2 separate regions of the Homo sapiens genome follow, and region 1 is linked to region 2. Evidence: promoter capture Hi-C in 16 types of primary human blood cells and fetal thymus (Javierre and others, 2016). All regions are on one chromosome and are shown on one strand. Each heading gives the region's core, a stretch centred on a gene start or on the middle of the fragment in contact. The rest is flanking DNA. Distances are from core to core; before and after follow the strand shown.

Region 1 (3,092 bases), core at 304-2,803, 79 kb after region 2:
TGACTGCTATCAAAATTAATTCCTGAACACTATGAAAAAGGAAAAAATGCATAGAAATTGATATTTTAAACATTAAATATTCAGCAGTTTCTCTTATTTGGCAAAATCTTTTTGAAGCAAAGCTGATCTCATTTTGGTTTAGATCACACCAAAGAATTTCCACCAAAAATGACTGAATTATTGCTATTTACAAAAATGGTTTTCATTCTGTGACATTTTTCTGTTTCAACCAAAATTGGTGTACTAAAAGTCATTTCTGGCACTGACCATTTAGAGTTAGTGCAGACTCCATAAGTTAAGGGCTTAATCCTTCACAAATCTTCTCTTACTTCAGATTCCAGCTGTACTTTGGCGGTCCCTAGGTCACCCACACTTCTGAGCAACTAGTGTTCCCATGACCCTCTTAGTGTTACTGGGGGTCCTTGCTCACAGAGCTCCCAAGATGGTGGCGAGCTGCTTCCAACATGGTGGCAGGCGCTTCCAAGGTGGTGGCAAGCCTCGTGTTCTCTGACTGGGGTTCTTGGCTTCACGGATTCCAAGGAATGGAATCTTGGGCCATGCGATGAGTGTTATAGCTCTATTAGAAGCTGTGGGTCATGAAAGAGAACCGTGGAACCCAGTGACTAGTGTTCAGCTCAATTAGGACAAACCCAGGCACTTAGCCGTGCAGGAACAATGGCAAGCCTTTAGCACGATCGGGAGTGGCAATGGGAGTCTCACTGGATCAGGAGCACAGCAGACACCCTGCTGGATCTGGAGGTATGGGAGTCAGCGGCAGGTCTGCGACAGTGGCAAACAGCAGTGGTGGATGGTGAGCAAAAGCTCAGCTCGAGCCATAACAAACATGGACCAGAAGAGTGCAGTTGCAAGATTTAATAGAGTGAAACAGAGTGAAAACAGAGCTCCCATACAAAGGGAGGGGACCCAAAGGGGGTTGCCGTTGCCGGCTCGAATGCCTGGGTTTATATCCCAATCCTTGTCCCTCCCGCTGTGCTCTCAGGCAATAGATGATTGACTATTTCTTTACCTCCTGTTTTTGCCTAATTAGCATTTTAGTGAGCTCTCTGATTGGTTGGGTGTGAGCTAAGTTGCAAGCCCCATGTTTAAAGGTGGATGTGGTCACCTTCCCAGCTAGGCTTAGATTCTTAGTCGGCCTAGGAAATCCAGCTAGTCCTGTCTCTCATTAGGTTCAATAATTTACTGGAACAACTCAGAACTCAGGAAAGTGTAATACTTAGGATTAGAGTTTTATTATATAGGATACATTCTGGATCAGCCAAATGAAAAGACACATGGGGAAGGTCTGAGAGGGTCCCTAGTGCACAATTTCTGTATCGTCTTCCTATCAAATCAAGTCATGGCACCTTCCCAGCACATCGATGTGTTCACCAACCAGGAAGCACCACTAAGCTTTGGTATTCAGTTTTTATTGAGGTTCCATTAGGTAGGCATACTTGATTAAATCATTAGCAACATGACTGAACTCAATCTCCACACCTTGTCCTCCCTGGAAGTCAGACTGGCTCAAAGTTTCAACCCTCCAATCACATGGTTGGTCCTTCTGGCGCCCAGCCCCTGTCCCAAAGCTATCGAATAGCCCACCGTGAGTCACCTCATTAGCATAAACTCAGGAACCATTCAGGAGGCTCAGGAATAACAAAAAGACTTCTATCTCTCAGGAAATTCCAAGGGTTTTAGAAGCTTCATGTCAGAAACCTGGGGCAAAGACCAGACAAATCCTCTATTACGTAGCAGACATTAAACCAAGAATGGCAAAATGACATAAAACCAACAAATATTTAAAAGACAAATAAGAATTCTGTGTTTGTTATTTATAGTACACATCTGAAGTATGAAAGTCATAAGTCTGGTGTAGATGACACAAAGATTTTGTGACTTGAATGTGTACCTCCAGGGTAAAAAAGCATTGATTCTATCCTAAGGAGGACTTACTTGGGCAAAAGACAAAGAGAAAACTGTTTTCTCTTCAGTACACTCTTTTTCTATTTCAATGCCCTCCCGTTTACCTAAATTTCCGTCTTGCTTATAGGTCCTTGTTAACTCTTTCTCCAAAGGTATTAAGTTCAATAAACATTTATTGAGCAACTTCAATGTACAACACACAATGTACAAAGGTCCCAGTCCTTACAAACCTGTCAGTCTAAACAAGATGACAATCATGTTGAAAATTAAGTGACATGACAAGGTAGAAACAAAATACTTTGCAGTGTTTGAAACATAAGCATTTAATGAGACAAATCATGGGGTGGCTAGAGGGAGGAAGCACTTCAAAAGAGTCTTGAAGAATGAGTAGGATCTCAGAACAGGATGAAAAGTCAAGAACTCTACCAAGCAGAGATGCAAAGACCCAGGAACTTGAAAACATGTTTGGTGAACCCACATGGCTGCAGTAAAAGGCATATGGCTAAGTATATTAGGATCTGAGGCTGAAGAGGCGATTGAGGCCTTATCATGGGGTGCTGTAAATTCTTTGCTTAGGAGTTTGAATGTTATTCTTCAGGCAATGGAAAGCCACTGGAAATTTTTGAAGAAGGATGCTTCATTGTGTCTCAAATTCTTCTTTAAGTCTCCAGGAACTCATAGACAAAAAATGAACCAATGAGGATATTATATAAATAATCCAGACAATAAATGACAAGGCGCTGTGGTACTGAACACAGAGCAAGAATACCAAAAAAGAGAACTAACAGAATTTAGTAATGGATTGTCGGAGCAGAAACAGGAGGAGTTGAGGATGATTTCCAAACATCCAGCCTGCCTGACTGAGAATGTGGTGTCACTGAAAGAAATGCAGAACCATCTTAGTCTATTCAGGCTGTTATAACAAAATACCGTAAACTGGGTGCCTTAAACAAGAAACATTTATTTTTTACAGTTTTGGAGGCTGGGAAATCCAAGATCAAGGTGCTGCCAATTTGGTTCCTGGTAAGGGCCTAATTTTGGGCCCCCAGATAGTCATCTTCTTGCTATGTCTTTACATGGAAGCTAGAAAGAGAAAGAGCCCTGGTCTCTTTTTATAAGAGCATTAATTCCATCCTGAGGACCCCACCCACATGACCTCATCTAAATCT
Region 2 (3,061 bases), core at 447-2,946:
TCTTTGTCAGAACTCCTGGCCTGCCAGCGAATTTAACTGTCTATGAGTAAATTCTAACATCTAAGGTTCTAAGTATAAAATATATTGAGGTTTACAGTGGTGAGAAAAAGCAAGTGTCTGCGTATTACAGACAGCTGATAAATACGTATTGAGTCATCAGAAAGTGAAAATAGATGTAGGACTATTATGCAAAGCATAGGAGAGGAAGAGCATATGCTTAAGAAAAAATGGCATTCCTAGAGTTAACAAGCATGTTTCAAAGTATCTATTACTGAAATCTACACGATTTTCCTTTCCACAATAAAGTCCACAACTGTTGTCTTAAATAATAACTGCAGGTTTTGCCCTCCAAGTCAAACTTGGAGCTCCAACTACTGGCAGCTCACCGTAAGAATATATTAATTATTTCCAATTTCCTTTTAAGAAGTCGAATACAAAGTAGAGAGAATATCTGCAGCTTGGTTGCAAAGCCGCTTAAACATTTCACTGGCTAGTTCTGGTAATATTATCCGAAATCAACTCATTTTGTGGTTGAGGTAATCTATTTGTCTTTACCAATCAAGTCGTTTTAAAACCTTCAGGAGTAGAGATGATACTTGAAGAATTAACAAATAAAACTTAATCAAGGAAACTGTTAACTCATTCTCCCCCCTACTTTTTGCCAGTTATTAAATGTTCTGGTAAATCCTAACTCAACAAGAATGACTCATGAGGAAATCCTGACTCCTTGAACTCACTGATTCTGGTGCATTACAGCTATGAAATCTCTATGTCTGCAGCTTTCTCTCCCACCATAAGGAAATCTGTGATTTCTATTTTGGCAGGAGATGTGACCAAGGACTCCTGAGGAATGACCCTATAGACAGACCCAGCCACGTGCCTAGTAGTGATCAAAAATGCAAACCCAATTAAAGCACTGTCTTCTGATAAAGTCACTTTCTCTTGTTCAATCCCTAATGTTCATTCTCAAAGTGTTCCAAGACGCCCCAGCAAGCTGCAGAGCAGATCCCACCCTGCCCCTGGGCAATCAACGTTTCAGGTTACTCCTTCCTTAAGTTAAGTGGCAGAGAGAAACGGGCGAGGGTCTCCCCATTGCCTCAGTTCACAGACCAGGGGGTGTCGAATGAGTCCTACAGCAGGACAGCAAACAAGAAATGAGGCGCGGGGTCAGGGAACGCGCTCAAAAAAGGAAGAAAAATCCCACTCTTCATTCGAAATCAGGCCACTGCACTCCGGCCTCGTGGCGGGCGACCTCCTCCTGCCAGGGAATCGCCGCTCTGGCCTCGGGCTGGGGAGCCCGTCAGGGTGGGTGAGGGAGCGCCGGCGCCCCCGCCGGGCCGCCGCCAACTTCGGCTCCCTCCCTCCGTCGCAAAGCCCTCGAGCCCGCCCGGCCGCCACGCTTCAGCAAAAGGTCGTGCGCAGCGGCCCACACTGAAGACTCTCCATCTGCTCCCACACCTGCCCCAGCTGGCCGCTGCTATGTGGCCCGAGTGCGCAAGAAGCCGGGGCCGCAGACGTCAGCAGCGCCCCGGCTTCGAGACCCTTCGGCAGCAGCCGTGACTGCCGCCGGCGGGCGCTGACCCATCCCCGTGCCAGTCTGCAGCCGACCAATCCGCGTCCTCTTGAGGCGGGGCCGGAGCCGCGAGGCCCCGCCCCCAAGCCGAGGCCTCATAAATGCTGCGACGCACGCCCAGCCGCAAACAGCCGGGGCTCCAGCGGGAGAACGATAATGCAAAGTGCTATGTTCTTGGCTGTTCAACACGACTGCAGACCCATGGACAAGAGCGCAGGCAGTGGCCACAAGAGCGAGGAGAAGCGAGAAAAGATGAAACGGACCCTGTGAGTATGGCTTTCTTCCCTCTCCCGCCACCCCCTGCCCCACACTGCAAGCTGCAAACGCGGTACTTTCGGGCTCGCCTTTGACGTTAGGAAACTAGCCTGAGCCTATGCAGGGAAAAAAAATCGAAAAGGTCAATTTGTTAAGTAAGGTTAAATCTGGGTGATGCTCGGGTACAGTTTAAGAACCGAGGGAGACAGTTGATATGAGGGCGGTGGTTGATGCGCTAAGAAATTGCGGGTTGGCTTTTTGTCCTCCTGCATTCAAAATGACATCAGAATCCTGCGGCTGAAGCGCGTCCCCAGCATTCATACGTTGCATGATGAGTTCTCATCAGCTTACACAGCTACTGGAAGGTGATGCTCTTGCTGGTTCTGAATATACTCGTTTAAAATCCATTTTTGTTTTTTAATTATAGAGCAGATCTCACCCAGTCCGAATGTGGAACAAATAATTGTTATGCAGCGTCTGCTTAAAAGAAGTGTCGTAGGTGGGGAAGGAAGAGCGCAGGGGAATCAGTCACCCACCTCTTTGTACAGTCTCTGGCGTGGTCCAGAACCTCCTGCTCTAAAGAGAGAAGCGTGGGCCGGCTCCAGACAGTTCCATGTCTGTCCTTTTCATTAAAGTGCAAAACGTCTCGGAATTGTAATTAACCTTGCAAACAAACTGATGCCCTTTGTGAGCCAGAAATAGTGTCTGCCTTTTGAACTAAATTCATTAACAATTCTTTAAAATACCCTAGTGATTATAGGTAGCCCTGCCCTTAGTTGTAAAACTAGTAGATACGGTCAGATTAATGGACGAAACTGCTCAGTACATGAGGTTTAAATGTTAGGTGGATAAGACTTATTTGAAGAGTTCTTGCTTTGCCTTATGCGGTTTGTCTCTAGTTACTGGGTGACTTTATTTGGTAAAAATGCGTTCAGCTGCAGTAGCATATTCAAGTGTTGCTAGTTAGTAATTATCTTTTTAATTTTTTGTTTTAGTTTAAAAGATTGGAAGACCCGTTTGAGCTACTTCTTACAAAATTCCTCTACTCCTGGGAAGCCCAAAACCGGCAAAAAAAGCAAACAGCAAGCTTTCATCAAGTAAGTTGAGAATCCTGTGCTTGCAAATATCAATAGTTAGCTGCTGAACTGAAAAGGGGAACTCTGATGTGCGTAAGCTAACATACAGAACCTCTCTTGCAGGCCTTCTCCTGAGGAAGCACAGCTGTGGTCAGAA

The links. The method cuts DNA at HindIII sites, captures the fragments that hold promoters and counts their contacts. A CHiCAGO score of 5 or more calls a contact.
Region 1: a fragment that was not itself captured here is called in contact with the fragment with the promoter of RGS2 in region 2 in 1 of 17 cell types (monocytes); the score reaches 5.7 in monocytes.

Annotation. Positions count from the first base shown.
Region 1 is chr1:192,886,008-192,889,099 of GRCh38, forward strand. No RefSeq gene overlaps it. Among named protein-coding and RNA genes, the nearest start is that of RGS2-AS1, 61 kb to the right of the region's middle. RefSeq lists an enhancer at 1,367-1,900. The HindIII fragment of the contact is 291 bases long and covers 1,409-1,699 here.
Region 2 is chr1:192,807,343-192,810,403 of GRCh38, forward strand. RGS2 (regulator of G protein signaling 2) reads left to right here and starts at 1,697. Exons shown (of 5, transcript NM_002923.4): 1 at 1,697-1,839; 2 at 2,824-2,925; 3 at 3,028-3,061. The coding sequence starts at 1,730. RefSeq lists silencers at 148-237, 1,174-1,383, 2,891-2,950 and an enhancer at 1,714-1,933. The HindIII fragment of the contact is 4,593 bases long and covers 1-2,913 here.